2 separate regions of the Homo sapiens genome follow, and region 1 is linked to region 2. Evidence: promoter capture Hi-C in 16 types of primary human blood cells and fetal thymus (Javierre and others, 2016). All regions are on one chromosome and are shown on one strand. Each heading gives the region's core, a stretch centred on a gene start or on the middle of the fragment in contact. The rest is flanking DNA. Distances are from core to core; before and after follow the strand shown.

Region 1 (3,502 bases), core at 698-3,197, 370 kb after region 2:
AAGGCAATTGTTAAAGATATGTAGTCTGTCATTGTCATTTTCACCTAAATGAAAACAAACACAAATGGTGGAATGTATTCAAGGCAAATAGAGAAAACAGTCCAAAGAAGATTTGAATGTTAGAGTTGGAAAGAAACTTAGTGAGCAATTTCAACCTGTGCATTTTACATAAAATAAAATTCAGGTCAGCAGAATTTGATCTCTCTGTGCAGGTGTTATCTTCAGCTTTGGGTGTGAGTAGCACTTCTAGGGGCAGTGTATGGAGTAAGGACGCAAGAGGATGATATATAGAACCCTGGAAGCTTCAACTTTGAGAAGTGCGCAGACGAAGAGCAAACCCATGAAAACAGCTAGTTAGGAGCTACGGAGAGAGAGCAGCAAAGCCAAAGAGTGTGATGTCATGGGAGCCTGGGAAGGAAGGAATTTCAGGAAAGAATAAGCAGCTGTGTGATGATAGAAAGAAGTCTAAGAAGATCAGAACTGGAAAATGATCATTAGATGTGTTGGTCATTGTTTGGTAGTGACCTTAGCAAAAGCAGTTTCAGTAGCATGGTTGTAACAGAAGATGGCTATGTTTTAAGCAATGAATGGGAGAGTTAAAAAAAGATAAGACAGTAAGGGAAGAACCCATATTCAATAAGCTTGAAGAAAAGAAAAAGATGAAGCAGTGGACGAAGACATGCGTGAGGAAAAATGGTCAGGTGAGAATGAGAGGAATAATTGAAACAATGTGGGGAAAGGCAACGAAAACAGGCATCCCAGCTCAGGCTGATGCATGAGCCTTGACAGGAGGAGACACCCAGCTTGCTCCGAGATCATGAAGATGGGAAACGGATGGACGCACGTACAGCTACGTGGTTCTCTCAGCTGAGTTTTCATTTTTATGTTTGACTTCTTAAATCGCATGTAGGTTATTTTAACAAATGATACAAGGTTTTAAAAAATCTCCTTCCCTTATTGCCTTTGGAAGTCTGGAATGAAGGAATAAATGGTCAGCCTCAAGCCTAGACCCTGCACTCACAAGGAGTTAGACAAGCTCTTGCTGGCAGTGCACATCTTCTCCCACACTGCCTTCCCTCCATCCTCCACTCACAGGAATCATTTCCTCATTCTCCAGATCCTTCTACCAGCTACAGAAATTAGGTTCTCACGCCATTAGGAAACACTGAGGAGATTAACAGGGAGGAGTTTAACTATCTTCAATCTTGTGAAGGCTGGCAGTTTCTTAGCCTTGCCAACTATCTATTTTCCTTGTGTGGTTTCTGCCAGAGGCAAGAGCAAACCAAACAGAAGAAAATGGTGGTAGCAGGAAAGAGTACTCTTGAGAAAATTAAAAGAAAAACGAGAGACAAAGACTTAGAAGAGGGAAGATTACTGCTGAAATTAAACCAGACAGCAGGTTAGAAAAGAAAGGTTGGTCACAGAATTAAAAAGCAATTATGTGTATTTGTCTAAGATTTTGTGGATTACCTAATGTATTGGATTATACAGTTTATTTCCAAACAGGTTTCCCTCTACAAACATGCACCTACCAGATATCTGTTTGAGTCCTTTCCTGAGAACCAAAAGCTCTGTGTACAGTTAATTATGGTTCCTTCCTCCAGTAAGAGACTAAGGCAAGAGGTTACCCTGAAAGGTCATGCTGCCCTAATGTTTCAGCAACGTTGACTTTGGAATTCTTTAATTATAAGATCGAAGATGTATTTTTCAAATTAGATAGCAGGTACATTTTTCACTTCCACCATTTCACCCTTAATCTTAAAGGTCTGCTAGCGATTTCTCAGATAGTGAACAAAGTCTCTGAATTACTGATGTTAGCCAGAACTTGCTAATTTAAATTCACTGCAGAGGCATTCGCAATAGCTATCTTGCTTGAGAGCATGCACTCCTAAAGTTTCAGGAATCCTCTCAGGATTTTTGAGTGTTTGGCAATAATGCAATTCTGTTTCTGATAAAGCTAGATTCACTTAAGCATTTTTAAAGCACCTAACACATGCTTGACACTGGACTGTTTGCTGAGAATATCAAAATGAATGAGATGTAAAATCAGTCCCTCAAGATCTCATACATAGAGAAAAGAACAAATATATATTTTTTAATTTCCATCATCTGATTTCTTTGGAGGTTGTTAAAAATCAGAATGCCAAGACCTCTGATATATCCTTTATCTTGTGTGTTATCAGCAAAGCTACTTCAGCATAAATAAGCAAAAGGATACGTAACAGTCGATTACGCAAAATAAAAGTTCTAGATGAAGAGACTTTATCTAAAAGAGTAAGAAATGAAAATAGGAGGAATACCAACTACTCACCTGCCCAATCCCAAGAAACAGTAATAAAGAAACACACTCACCCACACACACACACTATAACAACCACAACGAAAATCTTACCTGACTTGCCCACGCCTGCTCTCCCAAATATTGCCAGTTTGACCTCCGCACTTTTAGCCATGATGGGTGTTGGTAGACAATTTACTGTTGTTAAAACTAAAGCACTGAGTAAATCTTTTTGGTTCCAGTCTTTGGATTCACCATATCATTGTGAATCTTGGAAGAGTCCACAATCCTTAAACAAAAGAAATTTGGGAATTCATAAGTGACTGGAAAATGAATTAATATTTATTGAGCATCTACTATATGCCAGCCACCATTCACTTTTTCAACATTTTCTGGTTTGATCTTTACCACTATCCTGTGAGAAGTCTATGGTAACTTACTGTAAATGATTTAACTAATAAATGGTAGATTCAGGACTTGGATTTGGATCTGGTTGGTACTAAAACGTGCATTATCACACACAATAGCATTTCTAAAGTACTTCCTCAAGAAATTTTCTTATGAAGGTATTGATTCTTGATAGTAACTGAAAGTAAAAGTGAATACACACATTTACCATCTATCTGTAAGCATTCAGTGTACAAACACATGCAGTGGGGCAATGGAGAGAGTCACTTTTGGGCCTCTTCATGTCTCTTTGGGTTGAATAACATACATTCATATTAGTCAACTCCAATGCAACACAATTCAATTTTGCATCTCAAAGTTAAATTTTTTCTCAATTCACACTTGATCACATGATGAATTCCTGTGACAGATACAGATACACATGTTCTAGGAATCAATATATAATACATAGATTACATTTCTATATTTTGCTGGACACAATGCCCTGGTACAAAAACGATAAATGCCATGCTCCAAGTTATTCCTTTTCTATGATGACTTCAAGTAAATTTGTTTATAGTGCTGTCTTAAAGCTTGGGAAATAACATTATGTACAAAGTAAGCACATCTTATTTAGTTTGGTGCTTTAGGAGTGACATCTAGGTTCTTAGGATCATGGAAACGTAAATTTGGAAAGAGCTTTGGTGGTGGTGGGGGCTGGAGTGGGGGTCATCTGAAGAAATCTTCTAGCCATTCTTCTAGCAAGAATCTTTCCTTAGGACATAACAATCATTCCATATTCCATGCCTGACTTACCACTTCCAGGTATGAAAGGTG
Region 2 (3,418 bases), core at 812-3,311:
ATCTTGTAGTTTAATTACACTTTCTGTTTCCTCTACTTTCCCCCCTCTTTCTAGTCTCTCACTGGTGTTTTCAAAAATATCACTTTTATGAATGCCCAAAACCAAATTAAATCCTTGAACTTTATCCTTAAGCTATGAATAGTACTAAGGGGGCTCTCATAAGTAACAACCTTCTTGTCTACCTGGGTTCTGAAAACATTGATAATAAAAATAGCAAAATATGAAAGCCAAAATATCTGTTTTCTTACTGAAAAAGGGCACGCTACAGCAGTCACATTGTTAGGTCTGATAGCAAGTGGCTTGTTAAGAGCAAATTCCAGAATGGGACCGACTCGTTTGCAGGCAGTACTGAACTGGGGCCTGCCCAGGTAAGATTCTTGTCATGGGGAAACAGAGAACTGATGCCCTTTGCCATCAGGCTAACTCCCAGGAGGATGAAGAGCAGAGCCAAACTCAGCACACCCAGTTGTTTTTTCCCATGTTACCAGTCAAGTACATTTGTCCCCCTCAGGGACAGCAGAGTGAGTCAAGGGTTGGACAGTGGTCAGGAATGTGCCTAGGAAAGTCCCTCCCCTCCTGGAAAAGGACATTCCTTTCTAATGGGTAGCCAACAGAATGTTGTTTATTCACGTCTAGTGCATGCTAAACTGAAATGACAGATTTGAATAGAAGTCCACAAAATATCATCAGACTATCATTTAGAGCCATATATAAATTATATAAATTCTAAAACATTCCTTTCTTGGCAAAGAAATGATGTTTTCGTAATAAACAGTACTCATTGAGGGACATGTTAAAGGATCACATTCCATCCAGTCAATGTTAAGGATGTTGGAACTGGAACTTAAAGAACATCCCATTTGGTATTTTTACTATGTTATTTATGATGAGACGTCAGCTAGTTGTTTGTGAACTAGAACACATTTTTAAGACTGATTAAATGATTTTAACCAATAACTCTTCACATCAGGTATTAAAATAGGTCTACGGTATCTATTTAAGCCAAGCCGAGCCAAACCAAACCAATAATACAATGTTCTGTCAACTGTCATGATGAACTCTGAAACTTTGTTAATATGTTACTAGATCTCAAATATGTACTCTGTCATCTCTTAACATTAGGTTGTTTTTTGTTACACAGATCTTTATTAAAATATTCACTTAAAACTTAAGTCAATCTGTATGCTAGAGTTTAAAGCCAAATAGACTTGGTTTATTTTGCATTGTTTGTACTATGGAAGCAATATTTTACTTAATTTTTACAGTGGATCAGGAAAATAACTTTATGCCACTAGCATCCATAATGTCAAGTGTACTAACAGTGAAGGATTCTACAATTTTTCATAACTGTTTTCAACACTCTTTACTAACATGATTTGTTAAAATGTCTGAATGAAACTAGATTCTGAATGCCTAAGTTTTCGGCCATTTAAAGGCTGTGGCCGGGTGAATGCTCTGTTGGAGCACTGATCATAAAGAGATCACCCCCTCAATTGTCCCCCTACCTCAGAACCCTCTGTGGGTCTCTGCAGGCCAGAGAGGAGCAGCAGGAATGGCAGCAGGCCTCCAAGGAGCCAGATTCTCATCGTTGCAGGAGGTACAGTAGTTGGGAGAAGAATCTTCTTGCATCTGTTGATCAATGGACCCATTTGCTTGTGTCACAAGTACTTCTCCTTTGCCCTTGCAGCTTCATCCTGAGATGAATTCTCAGAGTTCTCCTTTGAGGTTTTCTTTCAGTCTCATCCGTAACCGTTTTTTCCCCTGTCTATGCTGAGCAACTTCTGTTGCCCACCAACAACCAATAGCTTGTCTGAGGGAAGAAATCAACTCCGACTTCTTTGCAAAACTGAAATCTCTGTGAAATAGCCAGATGCGCACACCAAATAAGGGTTTCTAAAGAGAACCCAAGTTACTTTTCAATTAAAAAAATAAAATCTCTGATCTAGTCTGTATTCAGGGGAATGCCGAAGTCCTGTTAAGTGTCAGACTCAGCAGTTCAGCCTTCCCTTTCCCAGCCAAACAGGAAAAAGCATGCTCTGTCCAGCGTTTGGGGCCAAGTAGCATTATCTGGAGCCCCAGGCTTCCATCAAAACTGATAAGATTGGCATGCGCAGGGCGGCTGGGAACGCGCCACCCTGGGTGTCTATAGGCTCATCTGGCCCTGCTGATAGGCCCTGCCCAGGACGGGCGTTCACAGAGCAAAGTGTGTTTTAGAGTTATTGTCAAAAAGAAGGCTCTTTGTACTGCTTTTCCCTGGCACCTTTGAAACTCTCCAATCCAGAGATTGTACCTCTGGGTTCAAAGCTCTTCCCCCATTTTCTCTTCTGAAGACAGGCCCTCTGTCCGCACAGTTCCAGTCTCCAGTGAATCCTAATGACGACTGTCAGGAGACTGCTTATGTAGAGCTGACATAAGTTAAAATAGGGTCCACTGTGCAAACTTAATCCAGCACAGTTCTATTAAGCACTCTCTTTTAGGTAGGTACTACCCTTTCTAGTCTAAACATCCTTCTTCTCCTCCCAACCCTTGATATAATTATATTTTCTTGCAAATATTTTGTATTTATACTTCTGGATTCATTATTTAAGAAACTAAAAGTTAGCAATCCTTGATAATTGTTTTTCTTGCAAATATTTACTTCTGGATTCAATTTTTAACTTTTAAGGTAAACTAAGTGCTGTTCTTAAGTATTCTAGAATTTTTTGGCACCCTGAATTTTTTTAATCTAAATTTTCTGATGATCACAGCAGTTCTGTCTCATTAACAAATATTCAGAATATTTAGAAAGCACAAAGGAGAAAAAAATGACACATAACCCGTCACTTGGAGACAGCCACTAATTAGGTCTGGATTTTGATTTATACACCCTTAGACATACACACACACAGGTTTCTAGAACTGAAATAATATAGTATGCAGTTTTGCATACTGTTTATTCCCCTTAATATTTTAATGTAAGCATGTCCCTATATAATTTAATACCTATTGAAACATTTTTTAAACAAAGGTTCACTATATTCCATTACATAGGTGCTGCCACACAATGGGACAGCATGGGTGGATCCATGGACAGTCTCAGAAGAAGATTGATAAGTGACTAGAACATGGACTCTTGAATAAGACATCTCAGTTCAATTCCTGGTGCTCCTTCTTCCTAAATGTGTGATCTTGGACAAGCTACTTAACCTCTCTGTCTCTCTGTTTCCTCATGTGTTGAATGGAGATAATAATAGTACCAACTTCATTTTAGTGTTGATACATTCATACTCCTTAGAATAGCATCTGGCACCTAGAAATTTTCCAACAAATAAAACCAATTATTATTATTTGCACCAAAGTTTATTTAATAAATATCTTATATTTAGCTTGTTTTCAACTACATAAATTTTTGTGTGTTTCTCACAATTTTTAAGATGCA

The links. The method cuts DNA at HindIII sites, captures the fragments that hold promoters and counts their contacts. A CHiCAGO score of 5 or more calls a contact.
Region 1: a fragment that was not itself captured here is called in contact with the fragment with the promoter of ART4 in region 2 in 3 of 17 cell types (total CD4 T cells, non-activated CD4 T cells and naive CD4 T cells); the score reaches 6.0 in total CD4 T cells.

What each region holds. Positions count from the first base shown.
Region 1 is chr12:15,215,037-15,218,538 of GRCh38, forward strand. RERG (RAS like estrogen regulated growth inhibitor) reads right to left here. Exons shown (of 5, transcript NM_032918.3): 2 at 2,393-2,567. The coding sequence starts at 2,453. Among named protein-coding and RNA genes, the nearest start is that of RERG, 4.6 kb to the right of the region's middle. The HindIII fragment of the contact is 2,617 bases long and covers 640-3,256 here.
Region 2 is chr12:14,841,465-14,844,882 of GRCh38, forward strand. It overlaps ART4 (ADP-ribosyltransferase 4 (inactive) (Dombrock blood group)), which reads right to left and starts at 2,062. Exons shown (of 3, transcript NM_021071.4): 1 at 1,506-2,062. The coding sequence starts at 1,649. The HindIII fragment of the contact is 16,901 bases long and covers 1-3,418 here.